Linked DNA regions of Homo sapiens: region 2 is linked to region 1. Evidence: promoter capture Hi-C in human tissues and cell types (Jung and others, 2019). All regions are on one chromosome and are shown on one strand. The core of a region is centred on a gene start or on the middle of the fragment in contact, and the rest is flanking DNA. Distances in the headings are between cores, read along the strand shown. Region 1 holds the start of GIMAP7 (GTPase, IMAP family member 7). Region 2 overlaps LOC107986860 (endogenous retrovirus group K member 19 Env polyprotein-like).

Region 1 (4,280 bases), core at 692-3,191:
AGGGAAAATACTGATATCCAATGGGCTATAAGGGGGACCTTTCAGTTTCTGTTAACAGCATCTGAGTTCTATGCACGTCCTGGAAAGGCACCTGCCCACTGGCTAATTCACATGTTGTAATCCCAACACTGTAAATATCTGACTTCACATTATACCCATGTAAATCCTGTCTCAGTAGTTCTGGACTCAGCCATGGCTGCACTAATGTGCTGAACTGTGGGAAATCATACACAGCCCTATGCCTCTGTCCATGCTTAACCAAACTATGCAGATGGGACAGGCCAGAGAGGGTCACTAGGCCATCACCAGAAATGAGGATATGGCTGGCTTTAATTCTCCTGTGAATACAGCCATATTGGTAGAGATAGTTCAATCCTCTCACTGCTCCAAAGAGAATGTTTCTTATTAAAGTTTTACTCATTCCTTCAGGAAAATAGGTCCTCAAGAGTTGTCTTGCTGAACCATAGGCCATAAATGGAGAAATAACCCAAAGCCAGCTGCCAACAGTGAAAACTGTCCAATAAGTTGTAATATTGGGATGCCGGAAAAAGTGGGATAGAATCATGGCTTTCTGTAAAACTTTCAGGCGTTCTTTATTGCCGTTTTCCAGATTTGTAATTTTTGTAGTTACCAGCGTTCCCGTAGGAGTATGCCGTGCTAGATGGACAGAAGTCAACTTGTCAAATCCTCTTCCTATTTCTACTTGGAGCTCGTAGTGAGAAACGTTGGCGGAACATACTACTTCACTGGCTCTAGTGGATGGAGGCGACCAGGAAAGGGTTGGCTCTTCGACCAAGTATTGATGGATACTGGTTTCAGACTTGTTTTTCATGTTTGAGTGATTCAACTTGTGTTCTTGAACTAAAGCTCACAGAAAGTGACAAAAATCCAAATATTCCAAAGAAGGCTTTTGTTTTATCTTCCTTTGAAGATGCAGATATATCCTACTTAGCGGCGACGACGGCCAGCGACTCCCTACAGGCTGCCAGTGGTGCGGACCTGGGCGGGTGCCGGAGCCCGGATCACAGAGGGGCAAGGCGAGCGCTCTAGGCCCACTCCTGGCGTGGGGCGCTGGAGGGTGGCAAGGCCGCGACAGGGGCTGTGGGCTTGGAACTCTAAACATAGTATTCTTACGTAGCCAACTGGAATATCTGGTCAACCGTGAGAGCTTTGGGAACCTGCCTCTCACCTCAAGAAACCTCCAGAGCAGATTGGAACCATCCACTGGGTAAATTCTGGAAAATCTGTCTCTGCCTGAGACTGGGGTAGGAAGATGTGGGGTAGAGAGGAAGGTGGGGAAGGGATGTAGGATCTATTCCTTGGGTGCATCTTTACTTGTTAGGTCATGCATATTTTCAAACTTGGAAGAATTATACGAAAAGCAACTAGAGAAACTATGTGTTCATGGGCAGATTATTTTTCCAGGCGTCACCTTCCTTTTTTTCCCTTGGTTCCTAATGATTTAGACTCTGCCTTTGAGCCTCAGTGCTGTTAACTTTTGAATGAGTAACTTGAGGCCTTCCTGAAAGACTATAATAAAAAACCCATATTATACAATCACTAAGAACCCCCAGCTCTACGCTTGGAAATGGCAAGGTATATGCCTGTCTCTCTTCTTCCCCAAATCACCCCTCAGCCTCCCACTCCACCCTGGGAAGACAATCAGGTCCTGTGCCTTGTTTTCTAGGCAATATTTGGGTCATTTAATAAGGCTCTTTTGCATCCATCACTATAACCTGAAGCGAAAAATGTAGCTTTGGAAATGGTGTTTATAGCAGGCCCATGGGCAAAACGTTTCAACCGGGCAAAACTGAAGCAATCACCAGATTATGGAGCCGTATTTCTGTTTCTTTAAAGACAAACATTTTTGTGTGTGTGGCTCCACCCAGCCTGAGCTTCCTGACTGAGAGGTTTTGGTGGCGGTACAGACACTTTTAACTCACAGTAAAAGCAAAAGCAACAGCTCAAGCAGCCTCCTTGGAGAAAACCTGAAAATTCAACTTGTTCAAGAGAAGGTGAGCCTGGCTGAGAAGAGGGTCTGGTGCTATTGGGCTGCGAAGGGCAGTGGGGACAGGGTGTGTGGCTGGAGTGGACTCTGCCCTTAGGAGGGACAAGGCACTGTGCTAAGCAGCACTGCATAGAAGGTGCTGTGGGAGGGGTGAGTAGAAGGGGAGTGAGGAGATTTGTTTGCATGGAGCCCATGCATCTCATATGTAACAGGACACACATGGCTGCATAGTGCACCCTCCACTCACTGGCTGTTGTGATAGACACAGAGTGTTGCCTGATAACCTTCATAAGAAATTAAGGGCTCCTAAGACAGATTTGTAAAGGTGACAGGCAATTTAGAGTCCACCTGTCTAAGTCCCTCTTCTTACAGAAAAAGAATCAGAATCCCAATCCCAGAGATTTTGATGATTCTCCAAGGGGTACCCAGATCACTCATGGCGGAGGAACACTAGAATTCAGTCTGCTGACTTTTTCCAGCATTAAGCAGAGACAAGCTGTGTCCCTAACAGTGTAACATGTGGGGCTGCTGCGCCATTCAGTACAAAAAGAGTTGCCATAAAAGACCTTTATAGAAATCACTCTATGAAAGCCTAAGGACAACCCTGCAAGATTGGTTTTATTTTCCTTTTTTATAGCAGAGGGAACTGGATCTCAAGGAGCTACGAAATTTTCTAGAACCGGTGGGTCTGGCCACAGTTTAGAACTGTTCACCTCTGTTGTAAATGCTTTTGTCATTTCTCAGCCTTTCTCTTAGCTGGAGGTCCTCTGGATCTTCCAGGAACCACTTGAGAAAGTTTTAAAACTTGAGAAAGTTTTAAAGTGATATTTCTGACCATCTCTCTCACGTTTGGCTTCTCAATATGAGAGAGATGGAAAAGTCCACGAGAAATGCGGAGCCCTCCTCACGGTTCCCTTATAACAGGCTGGCTCCCAGCTCACCTTTTTGCAGAAAGCGTGGATCATCTCCTTTGCCCTCCACTGGTCTATCTCTGTGCCATGTCAATGAAAATTTAGAATCATGGCCTGAGAGTAGCCAAGAACAGGCAGTAGAGTGCACGGTTAAGAGTGAGCATGGTAGATTCAGACAGACTTTGAATCGAATGTCTTCTCTGCCCAATACCTCTTAGCACAGTGACCAGGGGCATGTTTCCCAGAATTTTTGAGCCACACCAGCTTCCTCATTTAAAAAATTAGAATAATAAAATTAGTTTCACTGTAGAGTATTTTTGAAGAATAAACGAGATATACAAAACATGTTTTATCAGGGTGTTCTGATATGCAGTCTCTGCTCGATAGTGGTTACACTATACATGGGTTAATTTTTTTATTTGTGAAAAATTTATACTTATTCAAAGGTAAAAACAATATAAGGAACTTCCATGTACCTATATTAAAATCTCACAGTTATCAATTTATGCCAGTCTTGTTCAAATATCTGCTCCTATTCTCAACTCTATCACAGATTATTTTGAAGCAAATGTCAGACATTACATCATTTTATCAGTAAATATTTGAGTATGTGTCTCTGAAAGATAAAGACCATTTAAAAACATTTCCACAATTTCATAAACAGCCTTCAAAAGGCAACTATAAATTTTAATACTACCAGTTGTATTCAGATTTCCCTGAAGATCTCATAATTTTTAAAATTGTTTGAGGTAGGATCTAAGTAAAATTCATACATTACAATTGTTTGACATCTCTTATGTTTCACTTAATGTGTAGGTTTTCACCTTCCTTGTTTCTTTGTGTTAAATTTCTTTGTTTAAGGAAGGGAAGGTCTTTTGTCCAACAGAACTGGGCAGTATTCATACTGCTGATTGCATCCTAACAATGTCATTTAACATTCGCTTCTAGCTCCAGTGTTTTGTGTGAATTTATATGAATGGGGAGGTTGGATCAGATTAAAGTTTGACTTTGTTTTTTTAGTGGGAATACTTCATAGATGCTATCCTAAACTTCTATTAGAAGGCACATATGTTTGAATGCCTCTCTTTTTGTGATGTTAGCAGATGTTAATGATTGTCTAGAATGAATTTGTTTCATTAAAAGTTACCAAAAGATGATATTCTATCATTCTTTATTTATTTATTAGATGGAATAGTCATACACAAAGGAACTTTCATTCAGTGATTCTTTCATTTTTGTGAGATATAGTTAAAAGATGAGATGTATGAAAGACAAAATAAATGCTTCTTTCCCTTTAGTTGTCAATGTTCAGAATGATGAGTCACTTTCTTAGCATACTCCAAAGGGAGCAATTAACTTCT
Region 2 (4,280 bases), core at 685-3,184, 33 kb after region 1:
GAAGAGCAAACAAATTCAAAAGCTAGCAGAAGATGAGAAATAACTAAAAGCAGAGTAGAACTGAAGGAGGTAGAGACACGAAAAACTCTTCAAAAAATCAATGAATTCAGGAGCTGGTTTCTTGAAAAGATTAACAAAATACATCGACTGCTAGCTGGACTAATAAAGAAGAAAAGAGGGAAGAATCAAACAGAGAAAATAAAAAATGATAAAAAGGATATCACCACTGATCCCACAGAAATACAAACTATCATCAGAGAATACTATAAACACCTCTATGCAAATAAACTAGAAAATCTAGAAGAAATGGATAAATTCATGGACACTTACACACTCCCAAGACAAAACCAGGAAGAAGTCAAATCCCTGAATAAACCAATAACAAGTTCTGAAGTTGAGGCAGTAATTAATAGCCTACAAATCAAGAAAAGCCCAGGACCAGATGGATTCAGGGCCAAATTCTACCAGAGGTACAAAGATGAGCTGGTGTCATTCCTTCTCAAACTATTCCAAACAATAGAAGAAGAGGGATTCCTCCCTAACTCATTTTATGAGGCCAGCATCATCCTGATACTAAAACCTGACAGAGACACAACAAAAAAAGAAAATTTCAGGCCAATATCATTGATGAACATCGATGCAAAAATCCTCAATAAAATACTGGCATATCAAATTTAGCAGCACATTAAAAAGCTTATCCACCACGATCACATCAGCTTTATCCCTGGGATGCAAGGCTGGTTCAACATATGCAAAGCAATAAATGTAATCCATCACATAAACAAAACCAATGACAAAAACCACGTGATTATCTCAATAGATGCAGAAAAAGCCTTCGACAAAATTCAACACACTTTATGCTAAAAACTCTCAATAAACTAGATATTGATGGAACATATCTCAAAATAATGGGAGCTATTTATGACAAACGCACATCCAAAATCATACTGAATGGGCAAAAGATGGAAGCATTCCCTTCGAAAAGGTGCACAAGACAAGGATGCCCTCTCTCACAACTCCCATTCGACATAGTATTGGAAGTTCTGGTCAGGGCAATCAGGTAAGAGAAGGATATAAAGGATATTCAAATAGGAAGAGAGGAAGTCAAATTATCTCTGTTTGCAGATGACATGATTGTTTATTTAGAAAACCCTATCATCTCAGCCCCAAAACTTTTTAAGATGATAAGCAACTTCAGCAATGTCTCAGGATAGAAAATCAATGTGCAAAAATTACAAGTATTCCTATACACCAATAATAGACAGCCAAATCATGAGCAAACTCCCATTCACAATTACTACAAAGAGAATAAAATACCTAGGAATACAACTTACAGAGATGTGAAGGACCTTTTCAAGGAGAACTACAAACCATTGCTGGAGGAAATAAGAGAGCACACAAACAAATGGAAAAACATTCCATGCTCATGGATAGGAAGAATCAATGTCTTATAAGTGGCCATACTGCCCAAAGTAATTTATAGATTCAATGCTATTCCCATGAAGCTACCATTGACTTTCTTCACAGAATTAGAAAAAAACTACTTTAAATTTCATATGGAACCAAAAAAGAGCCCTTATAGACAAAGCAATCCTAAGCGAAAAGAACAAAGCTTAAGGCATCATGCTACCTGACTTCAAACTATACTACAGGGCTACAGTAACCAAAACAGCATGGTACTGGTACCAACACAGATATATAGACCAATGGAACAGAACAGAGGCCTCAGAAATGACACTGCACATCTACAACCATCTGATCTTCAACAAACCTGACAAAAACAAGCAATGGGGAAAGGATTCTCTATTTAATAAACGGTGTTGGGAAAACTGGTTAGCCATATGCAGAAAACAGAAACTGGACCCCTTCCTTATACCTTATACAAAAATTGACTCAAGATGGAGTAAAGATTTAAATGTAAGACCTAAAACCATAAAAATCCTAGAAGATAACCTAAGCAATACCATTCAGGACATAGGCATGGGAAAAGACTTCATGTCTAAAACACCAAAAGCAATTGCAACAAAAGCCAAAATTGACAAATGAGATCTAAGTAAACTAAAAAGCTTCTGCACAGCAAAAAAAAAAAAAAAAAAAAAAAAAAAAACTATTGTCAGTGTGAACATGCAACCTACAGAATGGGAGAAAATTTTTGCAATCTCTCCATCTGACAAAGGTCTAATATCCAGAATTTACAAGGGAGTTAAACAAATTTACAAGAAAAAAAAACCTCATCAAAAAGTGGGCAAAAGATATGCACAGACATTTTTCAAAAGAAGACATTTATGCAGCGAACAAACATAAAAAATTAGAGAAATGCAAATCAAAACCACAATTAGATACCATCTCATGCCAGTTAGAATGGTGATCATTAAAAAGTCAGGTAACAATAGATGCTGGACAGGATGTGGGGAAACAGAAATGCTCTTACACTGTTGGTGGGAGTGTAAATTGGTTCACCCATTGTGAAAGACAGTGTGGCAATTCCTCAAGGATCTAGAACTAGAAATCCCATTTAACCCAACGATCCCATTACTGGGTATATACCCAAAGGATTATAAATCATTCTACTATGAAGACACATGCACACGTATGTTTATTGCAGCGTTATTCACAACAGCAAAGACTTGGAACAAACCCAAGGGCCCATCAATGATAGACTGGATAAAGAAAATGAGGCACATATATGCTTGGAATAGTATGCAGCCATAAAAAAGAATGAATTCATGTCTTTTCAGGGACATGGATGAAAGTGGAAACTATCATTCTCAGCAAACTAACAGAGAAATAGAAAACCAAACACCACATATTCTCACTCATAAGTGGGAGTTGCACAATGAGAACATATGGGCACAGGGAGGGGAACATCACACACTGGGGCCTGTCAGGAGGTTGGGGGCAAGGGGAGGGATAGCATTAGGAGAAATACCTAATGTAGGCAACAGGTTGATAGGTGCAGCAAACCACCATGGCGTATGGATACCTATGTAACAAACCTGCACGTTCTGCACATGTATCCCAGAACTTAAAGTATAATAAAAATAAATAAATAATTAAATACTTTAAAGAAAAAAGAAAATTATGAGTTTTTTCTTCTTTAATGAGTTGTCAAATAATAAAAACCAAAAACAGTGTTCAAGGCTAGAATCTAATGACAGGTATGTTATAGGTTTCTTTTGAAATACAATTTCTTTCTTTCTTTCTTTCTTTCTTTCTTTCTTTCTTTCTTTCTTTCTTTCTTTCTTTCCTTCTTCTTTCTTTCTTTCTTTCTTTCCTTCTTTCTTCTTTCTTTCTTTCTTTCTTTCCTTCTTTCTCTCTCTCTCTCTTTCTCTCTCTCTCTCTCTGGATCCCTTTTTGTACCAGATACAAATTATAATAAAACTAATTTGTGTGCAAAGTAGATTTTAGTCTGGTTAAATGTGGTCTAATTATTTGCATAAAGTGCAGCAAGAATAACGTTTTGCTTTTTTGATTGGCTTTGTTTGAACTTTTCATAAGGAATCTCTGATTTGAAAGGCCTCTCAAAGCTATTCAAGTCAGGGATTTATCAGATTGCCTGTGATACCCATACGAATTGTGTGAAGTTGTTTCTTCTCAAAGTCCCAAAATAACTTGAGATTTCTGGGCCTGTCATAAAGTGACATTCTTTACTGACCACAGGTCAGGAACCTTGTAAAGCAACTGCATAGAAAAAGTGCCAGGCCAGTCTTTCCAAGAGGCTTCCTTTCGGGTCTAAAAAGTCAACCTTAATTCCTCAAAGTAATCTGGACATATCTGAAAATATGCCATTTCTCTCACAGCCTCGGTAAAATAACAAGTCTCCAATTGATTCCTGTTATAAAAGAAAACAGATTATTATTAAACTTATATAAATAATTATATTGCCATAAATTAAGAATGTTCACAAATAGTTTCTAAATTCTGAAGAAATCAGGTAGAGAGAAAGATAAATCCTTCACATTTTTGCTTATAATAGTATACTTCACTCAATTTGTTGTAAGCTATAAATAGCTCAAAAGAAAAAAGTTTTCTTGACTCTGGAAAACAGAACACAAAAAGAATTAGCAATGTTACAACCAAGGAAGTCATAAAATTATTTCAGTCCTCTATTTGTTCAGTTTTGTGTAAGTAATTATTGTTCTGCCTGATGTTGGGTTAGCAATCCTCATAAATGCACTAGCTTTTAACTGCAGTCCTGAAAGTTTTTACCTAGTCCAATGATATGATCTCCAAAGTTATCTGAAACTTGTATTCAAGAGTACTTGTCAGAGGCCTTTCCA

The links. The method cuts DNA at HindIII sites, captures the fragments that hold promoters and counts their contacts. A contact is called where the count stands out against the background at its distance.
Region 2: a contact is called between a fragment that was not itself captured here and the fragment with the promoter of GIMAP7 in region 1, in 1 of the 25 tissues and cell types used here (psoas muscle).

The regions. Positions count from the first base shown.
Region 1 is chr7:150,512,931-150,517,210 of GRCh38, forward strand. It overlaps GIMAP7 (GTPase, IMAP family member 7), which reads left to right and starts at 1,942. Exons shown (of 2, transcript NM_153236.4): 1 at 1,942-2,015. It also overlaps the pseudogene STRADBP1. RefSeq lists enhancers at 1,664-1,823, 1,834-2,093. The HindIII fragment of the contact is 14,588 bases long and covers 1-4,280 here.
Region 2 is chr7:150,545,746-150,550,025 of GRCh38, forward strand. LOC107986860 (endogenous retrovirus group K member 19 Env polyprotein-like) reads right to left here. Exons shown (of 2, transcript XM_017012936.2): 2 at 3,330-3,832. The coding sequence ends at 3,795. Among named protein-coding and RNA genes, the nearest start is that of GIMAP4, 20 kb to the right of the region's middle. The HindIII fragment of the contact is 5,501 bases long and covers 1-4,280 here.